Regions from separate parts of the Homo sapiens genome. Here all the other regions are linked to region 5. The links are contacts of gene promoters, found by promoter capture Hi-C in blood cells and fetal thymus (Javierre and others, 2016). All regions are on one chromosome and are shown on one strand. Each heading gives the region's core, a stretch centred on a gene start or on the middle of the fragment in contact. The rest is flanking DNA. Distances are from core to core; before and after follow the strand shown. Region 1 has its middle 50 kb from the start of ETS1. Region 2 overlaps LOC124902789 (a long non-coding RNA gene). Region 3 overlaps ETS1 (ETS proto-oncogene 1, transcription factor). Region 4 overlaps LOC105369568 (a long non-coding RNA gene). Region 5 holds the start of ETS1-AS1 (ETS1 antisense RNA 1).

Region 1 (2,750 bases), core at 149-2,648, 110 kb before region 5:
CTTTTTAAGATTTTATCTCTTATTTCCTGAATTGTTTTAGAAATTTCTTTGTGTTGATTTACAACCTTGTCTTGGATATCAATGAGCTTCCTGCAATCTATGCTTTGAATTCTTTATCTGGTATTTCTGAGTTTCCATTTTGGTTAGGGACCATTGCTGGAGAGGTAGTGCAATCCTTTGATGTGGTCACTACATTCAGATTTTTCATGGGGCCAGAATTCTTGCACTGGTTTTCTCTCATTTGGAGATGCTGGCACTTCTAATTTTTGTAATTATTTTCGTGCAGGTAGGATTTTTCTTTTTCTTTCTCACCCTATACTGATACAATTTTTCTTTTTTTTTCTTTCCCTTTCTCTTTCCCTCAATTCCTAGGAGGCATGACTGTAGAGAATTCTGGGTAGAGTCTTTTGACTTTGTTTCTATAGTCATATGCACTCCTTCCAGCAGGTTTTATATTGGGCTGTGCAGCTCATCCTACAAGCCTATAGATGGCATTTATAGGTATGAACCACCTGCGGGCAATGTGGTTGGGTATATATTGATCCTTGTTTACTGGGAGAAGCTCTCTGTTGCCTCAGGCAATGGGCTGATTTGTGGAATGTCCAGTGGTCTGAGCTCCCTGCTCAGCCTTGAAGGGGCGGGAGCCACAAAGTGTAGGGCTGGACCAGGCAGGTCCTCCTGCAGTTCCCCTAATGGCAGGCATAAGCACCAGTGCCAAGGGATAATCCAGTGGGTAGCCACCAGGCACCCAGAGGTGTGTCTAGTCATGGAGCTGGAAAACCTCCTTGGCTCCAAGTTCTCTGCTTAGGGATGGGGGTGTGTGGTAGCCTAAGCTCCTAATCCAGGAGAGTGAGAGCTCCAGATGCCTGGAGATCTGCCTGGACACGAAGCAAAGAGGGCCTCCTTGCACCAGGATCTCTGCACAGGAAGGATAGGACTAGTTAGGGTGTTGATCCAGGTGAGCACTACTCCAAATGCCTGAAACTGCCTGGGTCTGAAGCAGAGAGAGTACCCCTGAAACAAAATCTCTGAACAGGAGAGGTGGGGCATCTCAGGCTGCTGGACCAAGCAAGCAGGTGCTCTGAATGCCTGGAGATTTTCCTGGGCATATAGCAGAGAGGGTTCCCTTGCACCTGGATCTCTGCATAGGAAGGGTAGGGCAGCTCAGACTGCTGAACCAGGAGAAAAGTTGCTCTGAATGCCTGGAGGTCTGCCTGGGCATGGAGCAGAGTCTTACTTTACCACAATCTATGTCTAGTAAGGGCGGGGCAACTTAGGCTGCCGAATCAAGCTAGCAGGTACTCTGAAAATCTGGAGACCTGCCTGGGCAAGGAGCAAAGAGCCCCATAGCACTAAGATCTTATGTCCAGGAATGGTGGAGCAGCTCAGGCTGCTGAACCAAGAGAATGAGTGCTCCTAATGCCTGGAGATCTGTCTGGGCATGGAGTAGAAAGGGCCCGACTGCACTATGATCTCAGGAGAGCAGGGTAGGGGACCCAGCAATGGCACACACAGATCAGTTTCAGGTCTCCAAGCTGGCTGTGACTACAAGTCTCACCATCCAGGAGAAACTGCAGCTGTAGCTCTCCTCCCACCCCAGGCTTGTGAAGAGGGAGAGCACAATTCCAGCACCTACTGCTGAGGTGCCTTCCACAGTTCTGGCTGTGGAGGCTCCTACTCTGCTCCAGAGCAGGTGCTCCAGTCTCTGGCCTGAGACTACAATGCCTGCACAGCCAGACTGCTGGGTTGCCAAGAAATGGCTGACTTAGTATGCACCCAGATTAAAAATGGTGTCCTGCTCTCAGTCCCAGGTCTAAGAAAATGTCTACAGCTTTTCTTGGTGTCTTTACCTCGCTGGACCTCCATGTATCTCCCCAAATTAGCTCCAGGGCTTAGGAGAAGCAAAGTGCAATCCCTTGGCCTGGGTTGTTCAGATCCCCAGGGGAAAGATGAGCCACAGACGAAGGCTTTCTGCCTCTCACTTATGGGGCTTCACTCACTTTTATCAGCCGGATGCCGTCACAGGGGCTGTTTGCTGTCATTCTCCTCTTTGAGATCTGGGGTGTCCATGATTCTGGTAGATTCTCATTTTCCTTTTTGAATTGAAGCTCACAGAGTTAATCTTTATGTTCTATTTTTCTGTTTCCAAGTGGCTGAGGTATGCTAAAAGCCTCTAATCTGCCATCTTGGATAAAAACAAACAAACCAACCTATAACTGTTCAGTTGTCTTTTATGCCTGTTACTAAAATATTGTCAGCATTAGCCTGTGAGTTCCAAGATTGGGTGGCATGTTTGTTTTCTTCTCTGTGCAGCAGGGAGCCCTGACACACCTAGCATGGCCATTTTTCAGGGCAGCAGGTAGTGTGACCTGACCTTGCACAGCACTGAGAGTGAGTTTTTCCTGTATTTCATGCCCTCAGCACCTAACTTGCTGAGCTCCAGCCTAGCCTCTCACCACTGCTCCCAACAGGGAGATGGAGCATCTGGAATAGACTCCAGGAGACAGAGGATGTGGAGAAGGCGGGGAATCACAGGGGGAGCCATGGCAGCCCTTTTGTTTCCTAAAGGCCAGTCCAAATTCTGTCTTAAATCCTGGCTCAGGTTGGGCACCAAAATACCTTGTACCAAAGGTCAGTTATTTGCAGTTGGCTATATTCAGCCATACTGCTTATGCCACCAACATGTGGTCACTGCACACAGGGAACCCCTTCTCCCCACCCACCTCCGATTTCCCTTTCTCTATTGTCCT
Region 2 (2,700 bases), core at 37-2,536, 83 kb after region 5:
CTGCAAACAGGGCCAATCTGACTTCCTCTTTTCTTAATTGAATACCCATTATTTCTTTCTCTTGCCTGATTGCCCTGGCCAGAACTTCCAACACTATGTTGAATAGGAGTGGTAAGAGAGGGCATCCCTGATAAAAGACATCTTTCAAGCAGAAGAAAAATGATACCAGATAGAAGTCTGATATACTGGATAGAATTAAGAGCCTTGAAAAAAAATTATGTAGACAAATATATTTTCTCATTTTAAACATTTCATTGAAAACTTGGTTTTTTAAAGCAAACACAGAAACAATGTAATATAGGTCTTATTACATATGTAGAAATAAAAATAATATGTATGACGACAACAGTAGTATAAAATTCAGGAGACAGAGAATGGAAGTACATTGTTGCAAGGTTTTCTAATACGCATGTACAAAGTGGTATAATGTTACTTGAAAGATAACTGTGATAAGTTAAAGACGTAATCAATGACACTATATCAACCACTAAAATAATACAACAAAGGATATACGAAATATTTTTAAAAGTATAATTAACCCAAAAGAAAGCATAGAGGAAAAAGGGAACAAAGAATAATAGATGGAATAAACAGAAAAAACTAGCCAGCTGGTAAATTTAAAACCGATCATATACATATTCACATTAAATACAAAAAGTTTAAACACTTCAAAGTCAAGTCAGAGGTGTCATATTGGATAAAAAGAAAGACTCAACTATATGTTACCTATAAGGAATGCACTTTAAATATACAAACATATTAAAATAAAAAGATGAAAAGTTATATACAATGTTAATACTCATCAAAATAAAGCTAATGAGGCTATATTCATATTAAAAAGTAGGTTTTAAAGCAAAGATTACCAGGGATAAAGAGGGCCATTTAATAATGATAAAGTAGTCGCCTCATCAAGATGATATAACAATCCTAAATATTTACACATATAATAACTGAGCATCAAAATACATGGAGCAAAACTTAAGGAAAAACAAACATATTCACAGTTATAGTCAGAGATTTCAGTAATTGATAGAACATATAGACAGAAAGTCCATAAGTATTTAGAAGATTTGAATAACACTATTAACTAAATTGACCTAACTGACAATTACGGAACATTGCACCCAACAACAACAACCACCGAATATACTTTTTATTTAAGTATTAATGAAACATTTCCCAAGAGAGACCATATGTTGAATGAGAAAACAAATCCCAGTAAATTTAAAAGGAGTCAAGTAATAGAAAATCTGTCCTACAGTAACCACAATTGAATTAAATCAGAAATGAGTGTATCAGAAAGATATCTGGGATATCCCAAGTAGTCTCAAGATAATATTTAAAATAACTCATGGATCATTGACAAAATCAAAAGAGAAACTGGAAAGTATTTGGAACTCGATGAAAATGAAAACAAAATACAAAAAATATGTGAGATGTAGCTCAGGCAGCACTTAGGGGAACATTTATAGAACAAAAAGGTTTCATATTAAAAAAGAAAAACATCTTCAAATCAATGAACTCAGCTTCTGCCTTAAGAAACTAGAAGAATAAAAGCAAATAAAACCCAAAGAAAGGAAAAGACATGAAATGATCAGAGCCAAAATAAATGCACTGGAAAACAGAAAAACAATTGAAAAAAAATCAATGAAATCAGGAGATGGTTCCTTGCAAAACTCATAAAGATCAATAATCTTCTAGCTAGACTTATTAGCACAAAAAGAGAAAAGACAAACTACCAATATCAAAAATGAGAGAGGGGGCATATCTAGTTTCTAAAGATATTAAAATATAACAAGCCAAATAGTACAAACTGTATTATTGCAGTTATATAAAATTCTAGAAAAAAGCAAATTATTCTGTCCTGAGAGAAAACAGATCAGCAGTTGCTGAGGATGGAGGTGCAGGAATAATGGATTATAAAGGGACACAAAGAAACTTCTGGAGTTGATTAAATGTTTGTTATTTTGATTGTGGTGATGGTTTCATGAGTATATACGTATTCAAAAGCTGATCAAATTGTACATTTTATACATGTATGGTTTAATGTACTTTAATTATACCTCAATAAAGTTTCTCTGTAATGTCAGCAGTGGCTGATTAGCTCAGTTGGTTGTTGTCCAGTGTTAATGAGGCCAAGACCACAAGCTCAAGTCATTCATAGCCCAGTTAGCTTTTCTATTCCCAGTAGCAACAAAATGCACCTCTATTTTCCTAAAATTTAAGGTCATTGGGTTAGAGTGTGAATGGCTCAGGGAAACCCATAACCACTACAAGGAAAAAATAATTTCTCGGAGTAAATTGTTTACAGATGATGGATCTTACCAGATTCTTGGTTTACAATGGTGAGCACTGTTTCTTGTTTTCTCTAAAATGGTTTCTAACTAATCCCACTTAATTCTGTATTTCACTTTATCTCTTAACATTAAAGACCAAATTAATCGACACATTAAGAGTAACTATTACTTACATAAGTACATATAAATATTTTCATGTCATTTCTTGGCATCTAAATATCTGTTCTTCCTTTTCCTTCTTTTAAATAAAATTTAAATAGTTTCACTGCGGTATAATTGATACATCATAAGCTGTGCAAATTAAAACGCATAATTTGATAGGGTTTAACTTATTGTACACTGTGAAACTATTACCGCATTAACGCTAATGAACACATCACCCAAAGTTCCCTCTAGCCTTGTG
Region 3 (2,700 bases), core at 20-2,519, 65 kb after region 5:
CCAGGAGATGGGGAAAGAGGAAAAACAAACCTAAGATGAATTATGAGAAACTGAGCCGTGGCCTACGCTACTATTACGACAAAAACATCATCCACAAGACAGCGGGGAAACGCTACGTGTACCGCTTTGTGTGTGACCTGCAGAGCCTGCTGGGGTACACCCCTGAGGAGCTGCACGCCATGCTGGACGTCAAGCCAGATGCCGACGAGTGATGGCACTGAAGGGGCTGGGGAAACCCTGCTGAGACCTTCCAAGGACAGCCGTGTTGGTTGGACTCTGAATTTTGAATTGTTATTCTATTTTTTATTTTCCAGAACTCATTTTTTACCTTCAGGGGTGGGAGCTAAGTCAGTTGCAGCTGTAATCAATTGTGCGCAGTTGGGAAAGGAAAGCCAGGACTTGTGGGGTGGGTGGGACCAGAAATTCTTGAGCAAATTTTCAGGAGAGGGAGAAGGGCCTTCTCAGAAGCTTGAAGGCTCTGGCTTAACAGAGAAAGAGACTAATGTGTCCAATCATTTTTAAAAATCATCCATGAAAAAGTGTCTTGAGTTGTGGACCCATTAGCAAGTGACATTGTCACATCAGAACTCATGAAACTGATGTAAGGCAATTAATTTGCTTCTGTTTTTAGGTCTGGGAGGGCAAAAAAGAGGTGGGTGGGATGAAACATGTTTTGGGGGGGGATGCACTGAAAATCTGAGAACTATTTACCTATCACTCTAGTTTTGAAGCAAAGATGGACTTCAGTGGGGAGGGGCCAAAACCGTTGTTGTGTTAAAATTTATTTTATTAAATTTTGTGCCAGTATTTTTTTTCTTAAAAATCGTCTTAAGCTCTAAGGTGGTCTCAGTATTGCAATATCATGTAAGTTTGTTTTTATTTGCCGGCTGAGGATTCTGTCACAATGAAAGAAAACTGTTTATATAGACCCCATTGGAAAAGCAAAACGCTCTCACTGAGATCAGGGATCCCAAATTCATGGGACTTATATAAGAAGGACAATTAATGCTGATTTGGGTACAGGGGAATTATGTGTGTGAATGTCATCTACAATTAAAAAAAATTAGCACATCCCTTTACTTACTTGTTATCAGTGGATTCTCGGGGTTTGGACTTAATGTTGAGCTAAGAAGCATTAAGTCTTTGAACTGAATGTATTTTGCATCCCTGGTTTTGGACGACAGTAAACGTAGGAGCACTGTTGAAGTCCTGGAAGGGAGATCGAAGGAGGAAGATTGACTTGGTTCTTTCTTAGTCCTATATCTGTAGCATAGATGACTTGGAATAAAAGCTGTATGCATGGGCATTACCCCTCAGGTCCTAAGAAATAAGTCCTGAATGCATGTCGTTCCAAACTAACACTCTGTAATTTTTCTTTTATGTCTTATTTTCCAAGAGTCCTCCATTTTTTGCACCCCCTCACCGCCAACTCTGTTATTCAGTAGAGAGAAGTGTACGGCTTTCTGATTGGTGAGTGAAAAAGTAACTTGAGACACGACCTAAGTTGAAGAGTTTAGACTTGCTGAGTTTTAGAAGTGATGGAAATTAAGAGAGCATTTCAATAAAATGTGACTTGGCTGTCTTTGGAAGAGAAGTGCAAGGCTTTCCTTTGAAGAATTTAAATTAGTCCGGTAGGATGTCAGGTGAGACTGTGTATGCAAAATGAATGGCACAGGTGATGCCAGGGCCTCTTGCTTGGGTCTGATGTCTTGGCACAGGGTAAGTGAAGGTTAATTCCAGAAGAGAGGAATGACTTGAAGGCAAAGGAAACTAAGGAAGGAGGTTCAGTGAGGAAAATAAGGTTGTCCATGAGATTTGAATAGATTTTTAGTTCCCCCAAGGTTTAAATACAAACATAGTCAAGCAAGGTAGTCATCTTTCTGCTGGTTGTGAGGGGGAATCTGAAAATGGAGTTTTAGAGGAAAAGTCAACATCTAACTAGTGAGGAAAAGTGCCTAATACAATTAGAATCTCCCTCACTCTATAGTTGCCCAGTTGAAAGGATAAGGAGGAGGGGTGGCTTTTATGGACTTCCATGAGAGAAGGAAAGAAATATTTCAGGTAAGCTTCTCAGGGCTGGCCCTTTTTGGGATTTGGATGAGAAATTGGAAGTACTAACTACTTTCTAGCATATCTTTAAGAAAATTGATTGTTATTTACTCCCAGATCCTCTTGCAGACCCAGAATTATCAGGAACATAGCTCTGTGATTCATGAGTGTCCCCATACTGATGAATTGGAGCATCCATATGGAAAGCAAAGGCAGAATTATCCCAGCTGTATTATTTTGATCTTTTGGATGCAGGTGCCTTAATGAAGCTCTCAAAATATTTTAGGAGCTGCTCAGGGAGTGTTGGGTGGAACTGTTTGGACTACATTGTTTTCTCTTAGATTATGTGATTTTTGTTGGGCACTGGCAAAAGGTGTGTGTGTGAATGTGTGCATGTGTGTGAATGTTGTGTGTGTGTGTGTGTGTGTGTGTGTGTGTGTGTGTGTGTGTGTTTGCAGACATGCAAAACTGCAGCTGAAATAATACCTTAGATTTCTAGGTAAGTCTTTCCACATTTCAATAATGGGTAAGAGTAGAACCAGGGCCGGGTATCAATTATTGCTTGCTGTTTGCAACCAGGCATAAAATCACTTTCTCAAATCATCCACCGTTCCTATTAAATTTATGCCGGAAACTCTCCTTCTGTGAGTA
Region 4 (2,700 bases), core at 147-2,646, 91 kb before region 5:
AAGGGTCAGCTTGGAAAAGACATTGCTGTCCCACTACCTTCTCTCCCATTCCTTGCAATAAAAAAGAAATCTCTGGCTAAAATTCTCTACTCCTCCAGTATTCATAGAGCCCCTTCTCCACCTCCTACCTCCCATCCCTCTCCCCGCCTCCCCCAGCCGGGGCACAGATTGGAGGCAGCAGACAAACGCAAAGACCACACCTCTGCCGACCTTGTGCTTCTCATCTCTAAGACAGATCTGGAGGCAAAGCTGGAAATCAGGAGGGAAGAGAAGCAGCCCCCCACACACAGCACAGAGCCTGGCGGGGAGTAGGGTTGGGACCCCTGAAAGAGACCTGTGGAGGATCAGTCACGTTGGATGAAAGAGCCCCCTGCATTCATTTGTCCATCCACCCAACCAGTGACCCCTGAGTGCCAACCTGGGGCGTGAGACAAACCTACTTTCTCATAGAGCTCGGGCTAGTGGGGAACTCAGGCACTACAGAGGCCCACAAACCACAGCTTGCAAAGAGATTTTGCGGCTATGAAAGGGGCAGCTGGGGTCCCAGGCTGGAGAATCGTGTGCCCCTGCCTTGGCCCAGGAGGTGGAGGACAGGAATAAGGTGAGTTATAGATGCATCTCACTGCCTACCTCCATTCCGCTCACTATTCCATCTTTGGTGACTTTGGTGACTTTTCTCTTTTAGTCATCTCAGAGCCTCTCTCATGTATTCACATCCCCATTTTCTGCTTTCCACATTCTCTCAGCTGCTCCTTGTCTATCCTAACCCTAGAGACCTAGAGGCTTCCTTTTCTTTCATGCTTGGCTTTTCCCAGTGAAAGCCCTGGAGTCCCTAATCTCCCTTTCTCCCCTAATCATCACCCTTTCTCCCCTAATCACCCTTTCTCCCATAATCACCAGACCTCATAGACTTGGGGGCTAGAAGAAAACTTCAAAGTAAACATGCCTGGTCTCCTGGCCTTCTGGACCTACCCCTTCTTCCCCAATTCTCTCCCTCATTCACCATCACTCCATTCTTTCCTCTCCTCCCTCTGCCTCTCTCCACCTCCTGGTGCTGCTATCCCATCTGCCGGGCAGGATGATGAGTGGTCTCAAGTCAGGAAGGAGAGCCCCTCCCCTGGGCAGCTCCTCTTCCCAGGCACACGGAAAGACCTTGCTTTGGTCATTGCCTTTCTGATATGGGGCAAGTTGATTAGCCATAGTTCTGTGGTTGTCACTTCATCCTTCCCTGCTTTTGTCCTGTGCTTCTTTGTTCTGTCAAACTCACAGGAGAAGGAAGTAGGCAATTTACTGTTTTTCTGGAGAAAGGAGAATGCAGGGAAGTGAGGACCCAGAGATGTTTGGGCTGTGCTTTTTGATACATGGTCTGCGGCTTTGTTAGATCCCCCTCCCTTTCTTTCTTGATGCAAAATGCTTTAGAAGGAGGAAAATTGCATTTAATGTTTGAGTATTCTCTTTCTCCACAGATGTCCGGGAAGCTGGTGTCGGTGGCGGGCTGTGTTCTCAGGCCCAGGGACGCTGTGGCAGGGACTGGATGGGAATGCAGCAGGGCCGTGTATTAGCTGTGCAGCCTTGGGAAAAGTACTTCATTGTTCTGAGCCTCATTTTCTTATTTGTCTGTTCTGATTGCCTTTCAGTGACACCATAGAGATTATTTTTCAGCTTGCTCCTCTGTGAGGATCAAATCTATTGAAGTATCTAAAGTACCTGGCACAGGGTCCTGCACATACACCTCATTTAAATGATCAAGTACATACTAAGCAGCTCATGTTCAATTCTGAAAACTGTCCTGGGCCTGGGCCATGTGTTCGGAGTGTGGAGAAGAGGGAGCCAGTATTCCCCTCCCCTGGTCAGGGGGCCTGGGTCTGCGCCAGAGAACAGAAGGGCCGGCAGCCAGGCCTCTGTCCCCAAGAGCTGGGGCGCACATTAAAGCCTGTCATGGCTCAGGAACTGGGCCCGCTGCGCTGGGCATCTGGATGTTCTTAGATCTCTGTCTGGATTCCTTCTGCTTGTCTTGTGGAATTACTTATCAGCAGCAGGCAGACCAGACCCTGGGCTTTCCTCCCCACATGGCCCAGCCCCAGGCCTTCCTATCCGTAAACACTAGTGCAGGGGATGGGGGAGTTGCTTCAGGACCTGTGGATGAGGCTTCCCTGTGTGCTCCTCGGCCCCCTACGGCAGCTGCTGCTGTCTCTGTACAAAAGCAGGACCTCCAGCCTGTGCCCAGCTGCCCTCAGCAACCTGCATCTTCAGATGAGAGATGTGTAGGAATCAGAAGGGAATTTCAAAATTATTTGAAAAGTGTGACTGTTGAGGGCTGTCACTTGTATCTACTCCCTGGACCATTTTTCCCCCACAATACTCCTGTTATCACCCCCTTCCCTCCAGGGTTGATTCCACTTTTCTTTGGTTAGACCCATGGTGACATCCCTTTGCGCTTGTGAATCCGAGGGTGGAGGCGGGTTGGTGTTGGAAACCATGCCCGGCCTTTGCAGTTCTGTCCAATCAGCAATTCTAGGCAGGAATTTCAGGGATGCAGGGAGGGAATTACCCCTGAATAGGAAACTTCTGGAGATAGAGGCCTTTGGGCAACCCTCGGATCCCTCTGAAATTAGCATGTTGATGCTTGGTCCTCGTCTTGTTTTGCTATTCTTGGTGGCAGGTGATGCCATCAGTCTCGCTCTCTTGCTGTGCTTCCTC
Region 5 (2,700 bases), core at 102-2,601:
CCTGCTTCAGGGAAGCACACAACACTGAGTGTGGATGAGACCTCAGAACCCTCTAACCTTGGGCAGCTCCTTACCTCTTCCTGTCTGAGCCATGTTTGATTTGCTGCAAGAGGAATACGTGTCTAAACTGCTGGATTTTAAAATGTCGCTTGGTCTGTGGATTAGGCCAATCCACCCCACATTGTTGGGGCTGCAGATGCAGTTGAATGGTTCATAATTATAGTCTAAAGAAACTGCAGACAGCAATAGAGCCAACCCAGGCCCTTTCTCTCCTGACAGCCCATGCCAAGCTGTCTCCCACAGGGAACCATAGTGTGGTTATCCTGCAATGTATTTGCCCAAAGACAATACATCCAGTGTAGAGAAGTTGGATTTCTAGAAATTGAGTCTGCTCATCTATCTACTCCCATGTCCATTGTATCCTGTCTTGTGTCTCAAGGGTGTCTGGTACTTCTCCTGCCAAAGTGAAATGCAAAGTAAATGCAAGGAGATGCCAGGGAGAGAACTGCTATCAGGGCATCTGGTTCTAGTACTGACACTGACTTTTTTAGATTGTGTGGCCCTGGAAATAATAATTTCCTCACTCACACTCATTTTTCACCTCTGGTAAATAGGAGTGCTGGACTTGGAGAGCACTGATAAACTCCCATTGAGCTCTAACATGTGACAAATCCAAGACCTAAGGTTTTGTCTCCAAAGAGGCACTACAAATGTGATCTTCTTTCAGAATTTAAACTGTCACTTTTCTGTGACTCAAAACAAATATAAATCTAGTTCTCTTCTCCAATCAGGTAGTTCTCGAATTTCTCAAGTGAGGCTGATGCTGGGCAGGTTGCCAGTTTAAGAACTGAGGAAGGGTCTTGAAGAGATTTTTAAATGAAATGTGGTGATAGTTGTTCTATCTCTCGCTGGAGATCGTTCAGGAAAATTGAGCATCCAAGCTATTCTGCAAAGAGATGGCTGTAGACAGACATTTAATGTGATTTCCCACATATTCTACCGTATACTAGATCTTAATAACAATAATCAAATACTAATTCTCACCTAGACACTGTGCTAAATTCTTTGCATACATTATCTCATTTAATCATTCAAATAGCCTTAAAAGGTGTGTGCTGCTATTATCCCTAGTTGAAACATGGAGGAACTGAGGTTCGGGATTGTTTAAATGACTTACCTGTGGCAATTCAGCTGGCTAGTTGGTAGAGTAAGAATTTGAACCTGAGTCTTATTCCAAAGCCCACACTACTATCCTCTTTGTTTTCTTATATTGAGCTTTCCAGGGCAAACAGGCTCCCAAGTCCTCCCCTCTCCCCCAACCCCACCCCACCCTCCCTTCTTCCCTCCTGACTGCAGCTCCTCCTACCCTCATTGTTTATTGTGCCTTCTAAACAATAGCCAATGAGTCTGTGTTCCATTCTAGGGAGAGCTAGGGCTGATTTTATTCCCTGAAACAGAGATGAGGTTGTGACACAAAAAGGTTAAGTGGCTTTGGTGAGGTCACAGAGCCAGCCTGCAGTCAGCAACAGTACCATCTGAGTCCCCTGGCTTGGGTCCCTTAACTGACCCTAAGGCTTTTTGGCATCCAAGTTTAATTAAGAGAGTTATTTTAATTTTCCTTCCTATCTCTAATTTTCCATTTTATTGCTGCTTGATAATGTAGATATTGAAGTGCCAGGCATTTTTCTTCCCTAGTGTGACTTTTAATGACTAAACTTCTCACATAGAAACCACTTGCCTTAGAAGTAAGCTTTCAAAGCTTGTTTCTGTGTATGACAGAGACTGTTGCCTTTTCTCAGAGAAAAATGAGACCACAAATGCAGCTCAGACAGGTTGTTGTTAATTGAGGGCTTTTTTTTTTTTTTTTTTTTTTCTAAATCTTACATTTATACCAGTAAATCAACATCTGTGAGTCATAAACTGGTTCTGGATCAGCCGTTAGTGGTCTGAATGTTTTTGTACCTACCTTCAGTAAAGCATATTTTAGCTCAAAACTCAGAGATTCTTTGTTTTGTTGAAGTTCAAGACTCAGGAGTAGATAACATGCTAGGACACTTCTGGAGAGGGAAAGTCTGTCTTCCATGATTGTTCAACATTAAGTGTATATTTATATTTCTTTTTTATTGAAGTTGGGGTGGAGTTGAGGGAGGAGTATAAATAAAAAAGAAAGTATGCTTTTTACATACTCCATGTGCTTGAGGAATTCCTGTATGAAGGTGACTATTTTCTTAATATTATTGTCTAGCTCCACTCTTCTGTTCCCCAACTCCTGCGGACTTTTCTTGGCCCTTATTGACTTCACGTTCCTAGTGTAAGGCAATTCAGCACTTGGTAGGATATAATTAGCCGAAGTCTAAGGAATGCTTAAAAATACAATTCTGTTTTTTCCCAAATGCAGGAGGAACAGACTGCTGCAGTACAAGCACAAGCACAGAAGTATTTATTTGATTGATTTTTTTTTTTCCTGAGTGCCTTAAAAACCAGATATGGTATTGAAGTATCTTGCCCAAGTGGATGAAAGGCAACGCTTGGCTGCTGTTGTTTGGCTGGTGGGGACACTGAGGCATACATGTAACCGAGTGGACGTGAGTGCTGGGGATAGAGGTTCTGCTCTACTATGAAGGGAAAAGGGCACAGCCTCTGACACTTTTTAGTTCATCTTCACAAGCCAGAGCATATCAAACTCACTTAATCATTGAA

The links. Contacts are between HindIII fragments. The CHiCAGO score rates a contact against its expected background, and 5 or more counts as called.
Region 1: a contact is called between a fragment that was not itself captured here and the fragment with the promoter of ETS1-AS1 in region 5, in 11 of 17 cell types (total CD8 T cells, activated CD4 T cells, naive CD8 T cells and 8 more). The highest score is 23.5, in total CD8 T cells.
Region 2: a contact is called between a fragment that was not itself captured here and the fragment with the promoter of ETS1-AS1 in region 5, in 2 of 17 cell types (total CD8 T cells and non-activated CD4 T cells). The highest score is 5.6, in total CD8 T cells.
Region 3: a fragment that was not itself captured here is called in contact with the fragment with the promoter of ETS1-AS1 in region 5 in 9 of 17 cell types (activated CD4 T cells, total CD8 T cells, non-activated CD4 T cells and 6 more); the score reaches 13.2 in activated CD4 T cells.
Region 4: a contact is called between a fragment that was not itself captured here and the fragment with the promoter of ETS1-AS1 in region 5, in 11 of 17 cell types (non-activated CD4 T cells, activated CD4 T cells, naive CD8 T cells and 8 more). The highest score is 35.7, in non-activated CD4 T cells.

What each region holds. Positions count from the first base shown.
Region 1 is chr11:128,636,027-128,638,776 of GRCh38, reverse strand. No RefSeq gene overlaps it. Among named protein-coding and RNA genes, the nearest start is that of ETS1, 50 kb to the right of the region's middle. The HindIII fragment of the contact is 2,906 bases long and covers 1-2,750 here.
Region 2 is chr11:128,441,829-128,444,528 of GRCh38, reverse strand. The region is part of intron 1 of LOC124902789 (a long non-coding RNA gene); the gene reads right to left. Among named protein-coding and RNA genes, the nearest start is that of MIR6090, 79 kb to the left of the region's middle. The HindIII fragment of the contact is 6,754 bases long and covers 1-2,700 here.
Region 3 is chr11:128,459,873-128,462,572 of GRCh38, reverse strand. It overlaps ETS1 (ETS proto-oncogene 1, transcription factor), which reads left to right. Exons shown (of 10, transcript NM_001143820.2): 10 at 1-2,700. The coding sequence ends at 212. Among named protein-coding and RNA genes, the nearest start is that of MIR6090, 61 kb to the left of the region's middle. The HindIII fragment of the contact is 1,598 bases long and covers 471-2,068 here.
Region 4 is chr11:128,615,617-128,618,316 of GRCh38, reverse strand. All of the region lies in intron 3 of LOC105369568 (a long non-coding RNA gene), which reads left to right. Among named protein-coding and RNA genes, the nearest start is that of ETS1, 29 kb to the right of the region's middle. RefSeq lists enhancers at 1,988-2,488, 2,622-2,700. The HindIII fragment of the contact is 6,898 bases long and covers 1-2,700 here.
Region 5 is chr11:128,524,793-128,527,492 of GRCh38, reverse strand. ETS1-AS1 (ETS1 antisense RNA 1) reads right to left here and starts at 1,351. Exons shown (of 4, transcript NR_120581.1): 1 at 1,178-1,351; 2 at 75-960. The region is part of intron 3 of ETS1 (ETS proto-oncogene 1, transcription factor); the gene reads left to right. The HindIII fragment of the contact is 5,425 bases long and covers 1-1,752 here.